2 separate regions of the Homo sapiens genome follow, and region 1 is linked to region 2. Evidence: promoter capture Hi-C in 16 types of primary human blood cells and fetal thymus (Javierre and others, 2016). All regions are on one chromosome and are shown on one strand. Each heading gives the region's core, a stretch centred on a gene start or on the middle of the fragment in contact. The rest is flanking DNA. Distances are from core to core; before and after follow the strand shown.

Region 1 (6,589 bases), core at 2,841-5,340, 260 kb before region 2:
GGTCCCACCCCTATAGAGATGATCAGTGAGGACAGGCATGGTGGCTGACGCCTATAATCCCAGCACTTTGGGAGGCAGAGGTGGGTGGATTACCTGAGGTCGGGAGTTTGAGACCAGCCTGGCCAACATGACAAAACCCCATCTTTACTAAAAATACAAAAATTAACTGGGCGTGGTGGTGCATGCCTGTAGTCCCAGCTTCTTGGGAGGCTGAGGCATGAGAATCACTTGAACCTGGGAGGCGGAGACTTCAGTGAGCTGAGATCATGCCACTGCACTACAACTTGGGTGACACAGCAAGACTCCATCTTGGGCTGGGTGTGGTAGCTCACACCTGTAATCCCAACACTTTGGGAGGCCAAGGTGGGTGGATTGCCTGAGCTCAGGAGTTCGAGACCAGCCTGGGCAACACAGTGAAACCCTGTCTCTACTAAAGTACAAAAAATTAGCTGGGTGTGGTGGTGTGTGCCTGTAGTCCCAGCTACTCAGGAGGCTGAGGCAGGAGAATCGCTTGATTCTGGGAGGCAGAGGTTGCAGTGAGCCAAGATCGCGCCATTGCACTCCAGCCTGGATGACAAGAGTGAGACTTCGTCTCAAAAAAAAAAAAAAAAAAAAAAAAAAACTAATGGAAGTGGGAAGCATGAGATTTTCCAGCAAGAAAAATGTGCCCTGAAAATACCACTGACCTACTGATAGTGTAGGATGGTAACGTACTGCCCCCCTCCTGTTACCAAACAGACATCAGTCATTGCTAATTAGTTGGACAGCTCTCCAGGTGGGCATTACCATCTGTAGGCGCTGGTAGGTATCAGAAAGGAAACTGTGCCACCTTCTAAGCCCTGACCTCCATCTCTGCTGAATCCCAGCTCACAGCTGGGCTGTGCAACGCGCAGGTGCTCTCACCTTGAGGAGGAGGTCCTCAAGACTGTAAGCCATGATGCCCTTCCTCACGCTTCGATCCGCCGTGCTTACGCGGCAGGGCCGGGCCCTGGGGGCCTTGGGGCTGGGCTCCGACAGCAGCTGCTGGGTCACCACAGAGGTACGCACTGACACATGCCTGGGGCAGTTGAAGCATCAGGGTGAGCCACCCACTTTGCCCAACCCTTGCCCACCACACAGGGGAGCCACCTCCCCACCCCTCCTGACTGGGCTCATGATCAGTCAACCCCCCATCACCTGCTAATCCTGCCCTAGTCTTACTCAGAAGCCTGCTAGAAGCCAGGCACGGTGGCTCATGTCTGTAATCCCACACTTTGGAAGGCTGAGGTGGGCAGATCACTTGAAGTCAGGAGTTCAAGACCACCCTGGCTAACATGGTGAAACACCATCTCTACTAAAAATACAAAGATTAGCCAGTGTGGTGGCACATGCCTGTAATCCCAGCTCCATAGGCCGGGACACAAGAATTGCTTGAACCCTGGGAGGCGGCAGAGGTTGCAGTGAGCTGTGATGGTGCCACTGCACTCCAGCCTGGGCAACAGAGGGAGACCTCGACTTAAAAAAAAATAATAAAATAAAAATTAAAAAAAGCCTGCTAGAGCAGTGCATCTCAAACTTCGAAGGACACATAAGTCACCAGGGCTTCTGTTCAAATGCAGATTCTGACTGAGTAGACCTGGGTGAGGCCTGAGATTCCAAATGTTTCACAAGTTCCCAAGTGATGTTGATAACGCTGGTTCTCAGACCATGAGGAGTAAGTAGCAAAGTAATAAAAGACCCACCCCACATTCCCCATTTACCACCTGTCTTGGCCTCACTCTCCTCACCTGTAAAGTTGGATGAAGTGGGGGAAGCCTGAAGTCAATGTAAGGTATTTTTTTAACTGAAGCACTCAATTTAGAACCAAAGGAAAGGAAAGGACCTGGATTTTACAGTCAGGCAGTCCCAATTTAGAATCTTGGCTCCCTCATGGATTTGCTGGGTGATTGAGAGCACCCACTATGTGCCTCAGTTCTCTCACCTATTAATTTGGTATAATAACCCCCACTTCCCAAAGTTGTTGTGAGGCTTACATGAGATCAGGAGTAAAAGCACCAAGCATAGTGTCTACTCCTTTTTATGCATGGTGTGGTGGTGGTGTAAGCAGCAGCATTAATATCACCCAGGGACTTCTTGGCAGTGCAAAATCTCGGGTCCCACTCCAGACCTCCTGAATCAGAATCTGCACTTGAACAAGGTCCCCTGTGACCTGTATACCCATTAAAGTTTGAGAAGTTCTGGCTTACAGCTCATAGGTGGCTCTCTTTCCATTCTGCCCATGACTTTCCTCACCTGGAGAGGGACTTGGGGTAGAGAAGGCTAAGGGACTTCATGGCGTATTCCATCCTTGTCAGCTGGACTGCGTTGGACCTGGGAAGGAGGCAGAAACAATTCATCAGGGTGAGATGAGAGGGTTCCCATCTCTCTCATTGTTAGGCAAGGTGCAACCCAACCCCTGTTCAGCAACCTTCCTCCCTATTCTTCTATCCCAACTCACACATACCTCCCCCAGCCCTTCTCCTGTCCGGCCCCATGCATGCCAACCAAGACCAAGCTGGAGACCCCACCCCTCTCCCCACCGGGTGCTCAGGCTCAGCCTCACTCAGCAGCTGCTGCTCCTGCCCCAGTCCCACTCACTCCATGTTTCTCATCCCCTGGCTCTGGTCACACTGAGCAGATAACCCAACTCAGGGCTGAAGAAGCCTTGCCCGATTTGTTCCTGTCCATGGGGACAGAGTCCACTTTACGCTGGCAGGAGGTGAGTCACACCACCTCACACTTCTGGGGACCGTTCCCTCACCTCTAGTCCAGAGACCTCACAGGCAGGCAGCCCAGTCAAAGCCTCCTCTCTCCCATGGGTCCTTGAGCAATCCGAGCCCCTTCCTGAGGCTTCACAGTGGCCAAAAGAACATTCTGTGATGATAGAGGCATGCCTTGTACATACTCTCCAATACCATTGCTACTAGCCCCATGTGGCTATTGAGTATTTGAAACATAACTAGTGTGATTCAGGAGCTGAATTTTTTTTTTTTTTGAGTTTCGCTCTTGTCACCCAGGCTGGAGTGCAATGGGGCGATCTTGCTCACTACAACCTCCGCCTCCTGGGTTCAAGCAATTATCCTGCCTCAGCCTCCCCCGTAGCTGGGATTACAGGCACCTGCCACCACGCCCAGCTAATTTTTAGTTTAGTTTCGTTTTGTTTGGATTTTTAGTAGAGACTGGGTTTCACCATGTTGGCTAGGCTGGTCTTGAACTCCTGACCTCAGGTGATCTCCCTGTCTTGGCCTCCCAAAGTGCGGGGATTACAGGCGTGAGCCACTGCACCTGGCACAGGAGCTGTATTTTTTACTTTATTGAATTTTAACTAATTTAAATTTAAATAGCCACATTGCCATGTGGCTGTTGGCACCCATATTAGATCACAGGTCTAAGCAGATAGCCCTGGGCTCATCTGTCACCACTTTTTCTCCTAAACCTCTGTGCTCCAACTCTTGAAGGGCCCAACCCTTTGCACAGATAGTTCCCTCCACCTGTAGTGCCCTTCTCTGATCCAGGACGAAATTTTTGCAGCCTTGAAGCCTCAGTTTCATTGCTTTCCACTCTTTAAAAGGAAAGTCTTCTTAGACCACTCCCAAAATTATTACACCTTCATCCTGCTCTTCCTAGCCAAGGGTGCCTCTGGGTCTGTTTCTGCTGTAGCCCCTCAGTCCCTGGATGCCTGGCCCTGAGGTCCTCTTCCTATTCGAAGCTCCCGGCACAGGTAGGGCTTCGCAGAGCAAGGGGCACAAGGGGTGGACATAAAACAAAAGTCCCCTTGCCAGCTGGGGACAATCACTCTTTGCTTTTAACAATTTGGGGGACTTTCCAGACCAGGCCCCACAGAGGCAGAAAGCCCCTTTCCCACTTAGCACTGCAGAAGCTCTAGTCCTAGCTACGTGGGAGGCTGAGGCAGGAGGATTCTGCTTGCCTCAGCCTCACCCACTTCGTATCCCTAGCAAAACTCTGCCAAGAGCTACCTAACCTGCTCTCCAGGAGCAAAGAAAAAAAAATCCCCAAACCCAAAACAATAACAAACTCCTTACCTCCCCCTCACAGCCTCCTGGAAATACTGCCCTGTCCCGCCCAGCCCTCCCTTCATTTATTTCCAGCCCCCATGAAGCTCCTCCCCAGCCTTCAGCCCCAGCTGGGGAAAAGAGCTTGGGGTGAGAGCTGCAAGCCAGCCTGACTTCCAGAAAAGGCCTAAAAGGAGGGGAGAAGGCATGTTTCGAAAGCTTTGGCAAAATGGATGGCCCATGACATGAGATCAAGCACAGAGGGCACAGAAAGCAGGCAGATGTGGGTTGTGGTCCCAACTCCACCCCATATCAGCTTGCTTGAGCTTAGACAGATCACTTGACTTCTGTGAGCCCGTTTCTCTTCTCTGTGTAATGACGATAATGATTCTTGTTTTATAGGGTAGTGGTGAGGATTAGTGACAATAAAAGTAAAGGGGCACAGTGGCTCATGCCTATAATCCCAGTGTTTTGGGAGGCTGAGGCGGGAGGATTGCTTGAGGACAGGGGTTGGAGGACAGCCTGGGCAATAGAGTGAGACCCTGTCTCTGAAAAAAAAAAAAAAAAAGAAAAGAAAAGAAAAAAGAAAAAAGTAGCCTGGGTGCCGTGGCTCACGCCTGTAATCCCAGCACTTTGGGAGGCCGAGGCAGGTGGATCACTTGAGGTCAGGAGTTTGAGACCAGCATGGCCAACATGGTGAAGCCCCGTCTCTACTAAAAATAGAAAAATGAGCCAGGCGTGGTGGTGTGTGCCTGTAATCCCAGCTATCTGGGAGGCTGAGGCAGGAGAATCGCTTGAGCCTGGGAGGCAGAGGTTGCGGTGAGCTTAGATCACACCACTGCACTCCATTCTGGGTGACAGAGTGAGACCCTGTCTCAAAAAAAAAAAAAAAAAAAAAAAAGTCCGGGCACGGTGGCTCACACCTCTAATCCCAGAACTTTGGGAGGCCGAGGTGGGCAGATCACAAGGTCAAGAGTTCGAGACCAGCTTGGTCAATATGGCGAAAACCCCATCTCTACTAAATATACAAAAATTAGCCGTGCGTGGTGGTGGGTGCCTGAAATCCCAGCTACTCAGGAGGCTGAGGCAGGAGAATCATTTGAACCCGGGAGGCAGAGGTTGCAGTGAGCCGAGATCACGCCACTGCACTCCAGCCTGGGTGACAGAGTGAGACTCTGTCTCAAAAAAATAAAAATAAATAAAAATAAAGGCTTTGCAAACATAAACACTCAATGGATCGAAGTGATTATTAGTATTACTGATAATTTTTTATTTTTATTTTATTATTTTTAATTTTTTTGTCTTTTTCTCAATTTGATAATGTACATATTAAATCATAGCAGAGAGTAAGACAAGCTGAAATGTGGAGTGGTTAAGAGTGTAAGATCTCTGACCCAGCAGTTCCACTTCTGTGTGTGTGCGTGTGGTGTATGTGTGTCATACAGAGCACACCTGTTGTCCCAGCTGCTCAGAAGGAGGCTGATGCAGGAGGATCACTTGAGCCCAGGAATTAAAATTTAGCCTGAGTAACATAGGGAGACCCTGTCTTTACAAAAGAAAAGAAACAAAACCAAAACCAAACAAAATTACATATATATGTGTATATATATACACACACACATATATATATACACATACATATCCAAAAGAAATGAAAAATATGTCTACACAAAAACTTGTATGTGAATATCCATAGGATTATTCGTAATAGCCAAAAGGTAGAAACACATGAATGTTCAATTTATAAATCGATTTTTTAAATGTGCCTATCCATACATGGCATATTATTTATCAAAAAGGATCCATACTACCACATGGAGGAACCTTGCAAACAGTACAGAAAGTAGACAAAGCCAGTCACAGGAATCATATACATATTGTATGATTCCACTTATATGAAATGTCTAGAATAGGCAAATCTATATAAAGACAAAGTAGGGCCGGGCGCGGTGGCTCACGCCTGTAATCTCAGCACTTTGGGAGGCTGAGGTGGGCGGATCACGAGGTCAGAAGATCGAGACCATCCTGGCTAACACGGTGAAACCCGGTCTCTACTAAAAATACAAAAAATTAGCCGGGCGTGGTGGCGGGCGCCTGTAGTCCCAGCTACTCGGGAGGCTGAGGCAGGAGAATGGCGTGAACCCGGGAGGCGGAGCTTGCAGTGAGCCGAGATCGCACCACTACACTCCAGCCTTGGGCGACAGAGCGAGACTCCGCCTCCAAAAAAAAAAAAAAAAAAAAAAAGACAAAATGGGTTAGTGGTTGCTTCGGGCTGGGAGTAGGGGATGGGAGGGGAATGGGGAGTGGCTGCTAATTAGTACAGGGTTTCTTTCAGGGTTTTCTTTTCTTTTTTTTTTTTTTCTTTTCTTTTTGAAACGGAGTCTCGCTCTGTCGCCCAGGCTGGAGTGCAGTGGCACCATCTCCGCTCACTGCAAGCTCCGCCCCCCAGGTTCCCGCCATTCTCCTGCCTCAGCCTCTAGAGCAGCTGGGACTACAGGCGCCCGCCACCACGCCCGGCTAATTTTTTGTATTTTTAGTAGAGACGGGGTTTCACCGTG
Region 2 (6,723 bases), core at 4,224-6,723:
TTACAATCCCTTACCTAGACATAAAGGTTCTCCAAGTCCCCACCAGACTTAGGAGCCCAGCTGGCTTCACCCAGTGGATCCTGCACCGGGGCGCAGGTGGAGCTGCCTGCCAGTCCCGCACCCTGCACCTGCACTCCTCAGCCCTCAGGTGGTTGATGGGACTGGGCGCAGTGGAGCAGGGGGTGGCGCTCGTCGGGGAGGCTCGGGTGGCACAGGAGCCCACGGAAGAGGGGGGAGGCTCAGGCATGGCGGGCTGCAGCTCCTGGGCCCTGCCCGGCTGGGAGGCAGCTAAGGCCCTGCGAGAAATTGAGCACAGCAGCTGCTGGCCCAGGTGATAAGCCCCTCACTGCCCTGGGCTTGCAGGCCGGCTGAGCCCACGCCCACCCGGAACTTGTGCTAGCCCACAAGCGCCACGGCAGCCCCGGTTCCCGCCCGCACCTCTCCCTCCACACCTCCCTGCAAGCTGAGGGAGCCGGCTCTGGCCTTGGCCAGCCCAGAAAGGGGCTCCCACAGTGCAGCCGCATGCTGGACAGCTCCTCAAGCGTGGCCAGAGTGGTGGCCAAGGCCAAGGAGGTGCCGAGAGTGAGCGAGGGCCGCGAGGGCTGCCAGCACATTGTCACCTCTCAGAAGTACAAATTAAACGTCAATAAGATACCACTATACATCAATTAGAATGGCTAAAATTTTTTTATTTTTAAAGAACAAAACCCCAGGCCAGGCGCGGTGGCTCACGCTTGTAATCCCAGCACTTTGGGAGGCCGAGGTGGGCGGATCACAAGGTCAGGAGATCGAGACCATCCTGGCTAACACGGTGAAACCCCGTCTCTACTAAAGATACGAAAAGTTAGCTGGGCGTGGTGGCGGGCGCCTGTAGCCCCAGCTACTTGGGAGGCTGAGGCAGGAGAATGACATGAACCCCGGAGGTGGAGGTTGCAGTGAGCCGAGATTGTGCCACTGTACTCCAGCCTGGGCGGCAGAGCGAGACTGTCTCAAAAAAAAAAAAAAGAACAAAACCTCAAATCTGATAATACCAACTGTAGACAAGAATGTGGAGCAACTGGAACAGTCATACATTGCTGGTGAGAATGCAAAATGATACAACTGCTCTGGGGAAACAGGTTAGCAATTTCTCATGAAGTTAAACATGTACTTTGTGTTTGACCTAGCAATCTCCTAGGTGATTCTCACCCAAGAGAAACAAAACTTATGTTTGCAAGAAACCTGTACACTAATGTATATAGCAACTTTATAATTGCTAAAAACTGGAAACAAACCAATATCTTGCAGTTGGTAAGTAGATAGTATGGAATACCCTTGGCAATAAAAATGAGTAAGTTATTATATACTACAACTTGGATGAATCTCAAATGCATTATGCTAAGTGAAAAAAAGCCAAACTCATAAGGCTACATATGATACGATTTTGTTGTGTGACATTCTGGAAAGGCAAAACTATAGGGACACAAGACAGACAGACCAGTGCTTGCCAGGGATTAACAGTGGAAGCAGGGTTTGACCATGAAGGAGTTTTGGGGGTGACAAGATACTCTGGTTTTTTTTTTTTTCTTGAGACAGAGTCTCGCTTTGTCGCCCAGGCTGGAGTGCAGTGGCACGATCTCAGCTCATTGCAAAAACTGGAAACGAAGTAAATATGGCAACATGCTAATTACATGTGACATTATCAGTATTTGCTTTATTATTGTACTTGTATATTTTAATTGGTCGACATACAAACAAGGCAAAATATATCCCCCTTAGAGAAAATTTGGAAAAGACAGAAAAGGAGATAGAACAAGTCACCAGTTGTCTTTATTTATTTATTGAAACGGAGTCTCGCTCTGTCGCCCAGGCTGGAGTCCGGTGGCGCCATCTCCGCTTACTGCAAGCTCTGCCTCTCGGGTTCATGCCATTCTCCCGCCTCAGCCTCCCGAGTAGCTGGGACTACAGGCGCCCACCACCATGCCCGGCTAATTTTGTTTTTGTATTTTTAGTGGAGACAGGGTTTCACTGGGTTAGCCAGGATGGTCTTGATCTCTTGACCTCGTGATCCACTTGCTTTGGCCTCACAAAGTGCTGGGATTACAGGCGTGAGCCACTGCGCCCGGCCCACCGGTTGTCTTTAGACATTGTATTTTTTATTCTTTTCTACATGTCTTTTTGCCTAATGAAAAGTGTACTGTAAGAAAAATTTTGCCTGTGTATTCTAAACTTGTTTCCTTTGCAACTTTTTCTTTTCTTTTTTCTTTTTTGAGACAGAGTCTCGCTCTGTTACCCAGGCTAAAGTGCAGTGTCGCGATCACAGTTCACTGCAGCCTTGACCTTCCTGAGCTCAGGTGATCCTCCAGCCTCAGCCTCCTGAGCAGCTGGGACTACAGGTGCACCCACGCCCGGCTAATTTTTTGTATTTTTTGTAGAGACAGGATTTCATCATGTCGCCCAGCCTAGTGTCGAGCTCCTCAGCTCAAGTTATCCGCCCACCTCGGCCTCCCAAAGTGCCGGGATTACAGGCACAAGCCACCGTGCTTGGCCACCCCTTCCTCTTAAATGATCTTTGAAACATTATTTGCAGTCTCAAAGCCTGCATTTATCTAAACAACTGGTTTCATTTTAGGGATGTAGGCATTTCTGTAATATTAAACTGTTATATTTCACCTCGCTAGCATGGGAGTACAACTGAGGGGATGTTTGCATGAATCTTGTGAATTATGATGGCTCTAAGCCATTGTAATTTGATTAACAGAAGTCCTACTTTGGGGTTTATCTTATTTTTATTATTTATTTATTTTTTGAGTGGAGTCTCACTCTGTTGCCCAGGCTGGAGTGCAGTGGTGCTATCTGGGCTCACTGCAACCTCTGCCTCTGGGGTTTAAGTGATTCTCCTGCCTCAGCATCCCGAGTAGCTGGGATTACAGGCGCAGGCCACCATGCTGGCTAATTTTTTGTATTTTTAGTAGAGATGGGATTTCACCATGTCGGCCAGGCTGGTCACAAACTCCTGACCTCAAGTGATCTGCTCACCTTGGCCTCCCAAAGTGCTGGGATTACAGGCATGAGCCACTGCGTCTGGCCTACTTTGGGATTTTTCTCTACAGTGTTTTCATGTTGTTAATGTAGCTGGGGGTCCAGCATCACTGCTGGTCACTTAATCCTGCTGGAGGCCACCAGGATACACCATCTCTGTGCAGTGAGCTGTCAAGGAGAGCCCTAGGCAAAATTACTTAGGTTCATGGTGTCAGTGCTTTTGTGGAGATATCCAACTCCTGAGGTTCACTCATACTGTCATTTTCTCCTAAGGCATCAGGTGATGAGCCTCTCTGATCCAGCATTTTGACTACCCTTTTCACATTTTTTTTTTTTTCTGAGACAGAGTCTGGCTCTGTTGCCCAGGCTGGAGTGCAGTGGCATGATCACGGCTTACTGCAGCCTCAACCTCCCAGGCTCAAGTGATCCTCCTGCTTCAGCCTCCTGAGTAGCTGGGACTACAGGTGCACGCCACTATGCCTGGCTAATTCTTTCATTTTTTATAGAGACAGGACCTCGCTATGTTGCCCAGGCTGGTTCCAACTCCTGAACTCAAGTGATCCACCTGCCTTGGGCTCCCAAAATCTCGGGATTACAGGCGTATAGTGCTAGGCCTTCACATTCTTATATACCCTTCTGTTTCCTTAGCTGTGAAATGGAGATAATGACATAGCCTTAATTCACGTGGGATGCTTAGCACAGTGTCTGGCACTTGATAGATTTTTTTCTTTCTACTTGAAATTTATTTTTGAGCTGGGCACGGTGGCTCACACCTGTAATCCCAGCACTTGGGAAAACCAAGGCAGGCAGATTACCTGAGGTGAGGAGTTCAAGACCAGCCTGGCAAACATGGTGAAACCCCGTCTCTACTAAAAGTACAAAAATTACCTGGGTGTGGTGGCACACACCTGTAATCCCAGCTACTCCAGAGGCTGAGGCACGATAATCACTTGAACTCGGCAGATGGAGGTTGCAGTGAGCTGAGACTGAGCCACTGCACTCCAGCCTGGGTGATAAAGCGAGACTGTCTAAAAAAAAATTATTTTTAACTAATATAAAACTCTCTGAACCCTTCTTTTTCTGAGCTGCTTCTCCACTTGAGTCCATCCCACATCATTGAACATTTAATTACACAGAATTGTGTACCATCTTCCTTGACCCCCAGATCTTTAGCCTTCTATAGTACCCTGTCTCTTTTTGTCGTACTAGTCACAGTTGCACTTTTTTTTTTTTTTTTTTTGAGACAGAGTCTCATTCTGTCACCCAGGCTGCAGTGCAGTAGCACAATCTCAGCTCACTGCAACCTCCGCCTCCCGGGTTCAAGCAATTCTCCTGCCTCAGCCTCCTAAGTAGCTGGGATTACATGCGCGCACCACCACGCCAGGCTAATTTTTGTATTTTTAGTAGAGACGAGGTTTCACCATGTTGTCAGGCTGGTCTAGAACTCCTGACCTTGTGATCAGCCCACTTCAGCCTCCCAAAGTACTGGGATTACAGGCATGAGCCACTGCACCCGGCCATAGTTGCTATTTTATTTGTGTGATTGATTACCGTATGACGCTTTTATTGAAGTGCAGTGAAGGCAGGAAACATGACCGGTTTTTACAATATTTTCAACACTTATCACCATAGGTGGTACATAGTAGGGCCTTAATAAATATTTGTAAAATGAACAAAGTTAATGAGTGTTTATGTTTGTAGTTTTAATTGCTCTGAAGTAAATATCTGATTTTCCAATTTCCACCAGAGTGCTCTGCACATAGTAGGTCTAATTATTTTTCCCTCTTTACTAATCACCCATGCCTTGTAAGAATTCAGTTAGTTGACTTTTTGTACTTTATAAGCGTGATGATTGGGTGTTCCCGTGTGAGATGCGCCACCCTCGAACCTTGTTACGACGTCGGCACATTGCGCGTCTGACATGAAGAAAAAAAAAATTCAGTTAGTCCACCAGGCACAGTGGCTAAGGCCTGTAATCCCTGCACTTTGAGAGGCCAAGGCAGGAGGATCACTTGAACCCAGGAGTTCGAGACCAGCCTAGGCAACATAGCGAGACTCCGTTTCAAACAACAAATAAAAATAATTAGTCGGGCATGGTGGTGCGCGCCTACAGTACCAACTACTCGGGAGGCTGAGGCGAGACGATCGCTTGAGCCAGGGAGGTCAAGGCTGCAGTGAGCCAAGCTCGCGCCACTGCACTCCAGCCCGGGCGACAGAGTGAGACCCTGTCTCAAAAAAAAAAAAAACACCAAACCTTAGAGGGGCGAAAAAAAATTTTATAGTGGAAATACAGTAACGAGTTGGCCTAGCCTCGCCTCCGTTACAACGGCCTACGGTGCTGGAGGATCCTTCTGCGCACGCGCACAGCCTCCGGCCGGCTATTTCCGCGAGCGCGTTCCATCCTCTACCGAGCGCGCGCGAAGACTACGGAGGTCGACTCGGGAGCGCGCACGCAGCTCCGCCCCGCGTCCGACCCGCGGATCCCGCGGCGTCCGGCCCGGGTGGTCTGGATCGCGGAGGGAATGCCCCGGAGGGCGGAGAACTGGGACGAGGCCGAGGTAGGCGCGGAGGAGGCAGGCGTCGAAGAGTACGGCCCTGAAGAAGACGGCGGGGAGGAGTCGGGCGCCGAGGAGTCCGGCCCGGAAGAGTCCGGCCCGGAGGAACTGGGCGCCGAGGAGGAGATGGAGGCCGGGCGGCCGCGGCCCGTGCTGCGCTCGGTGAACTCGCGCGAGCCCTCCCAGGTCATCTTCTGCAATCGCAGTCCGCGCGTCGTGCTGCCCGTATGGCTCAACTTCGACGGCGAGCCGCAGCCCTACCCAACGCTGCCGCCTGGCACGGGCCGCCGCATCCACAGCTACCGAGGTACGGGCCCGGCGCTTAGGCCCGACCCAGCAGGGACGATAGCACGGTCTGAAGCCCCTCTACCGCCCCGGGGTCCATTTTGCAGACGGGGAACTGAGGCCCCTTGAGGCAGGACACATCCAGGGTGACGCTGCTCGTAAGCGTCAGAGCATTCTTTTTTTTTTTTTTTTTTTTCTGAGACGGAGTCTCGCTCTGTCGCCCAGGCTGGAGTGCAGTGGCGCGATCTCGACTCACTGCAGCCTCCGCCTCCCGGGTTCAAGCGATTCTCCTGCCTCAGCCTCCTGAGTAGCTGGGATTACAGGCGTGCGCCACCGCGCCCGGCTGATTTTTATATTTTTAGTAGAGACGGGGTTTCACCATGTTGGTCAGGCTGGTCTCGAACTGCTGACCTCGTGATCCGCCCGCCTCGGCCTCCCAAAGTGCTGGGCTTATGGGCATGAGCCTCCGCGCCCGGCCCAGAGCATTCTTTATAAGGCCGAATAGTTTGCATTTGAAGGTGGCTCCCCCCAGTCCCCCACCCCACGTGTATTTTCCCCTCAAAGAAAAGCTGCATCCTTAACACCCCATCTGTTCAGTCCTCATGACTCCAGTGGGCCAGTTCTGCGTAGTCCCTGCCCTCGTGGAGAACACATTCCTCCTGGGGAGACTGACAGATGCAAAGACAGGAACAAGCCAGGGTCATGTTGGCGCCGGAAGAGCCGACCGTGTGTGGCGTGGGAAATTGACTTACCTGCCTGCTGGGAGATGGAGGGGTTGCGGTTGTGTGGTTTCAGTTAAGGAGCACTTCCCGGAGAAGGAAGAGAGCAGGATGGAGTAGGAACTAGCCAACCCTAGGTAAGA

Evidence for each region. The method cuts DNA at HindIII sites, captures the fragments that hold promoters and counts their contacts. A CHiCAGO score of 5 or more calls a contact.
Region 1: the fragment with the promoter of CIDEC here is called in contact with the fragment with the promoter of VHL in region 2 in 6 of 17 cell types (naive CD8 T cells, activated CD4 T cells, total CD4 T cells and 3 more); the score reaches 8.5 in naive CD8 T cells.

The regions. Positions count from the first base shown.
Region 1 is chr3:9,876,163-9,882,751 of GRCh38, forward strand. CIDEC (cell death inducing DFFA like effector c) reads right to left here and starts at 4,091. Exons shown (of 7, transcript NM_001321142.2): 1 at 4,062-4,091; 2 at 2,780-2,892; 3 at 2,272-2,349; 4 at 904-1,057. The coding sequence starts at 2,324. The HindIII fragment of the contact is 5,760 bases long and covers 1-4,248 here.
Region 2 is chr3:10,136,305-10,143,027 of GRCh38, forward strand. VHL (von Hippel-Lindau tumor suppressor) reads left to right here and starts at 5,474. Exons shown (of 3, transcript NM_000551.4): 1 at 5,474-5,883. The coding sequence starts at 5,544. It also overlaps the pseudogene LOC124906359. RefSeq lists an enhancer at 6,391-6,723. The HindIII fragment of the contact is 16,438 bases long and covers 1-6,723 here.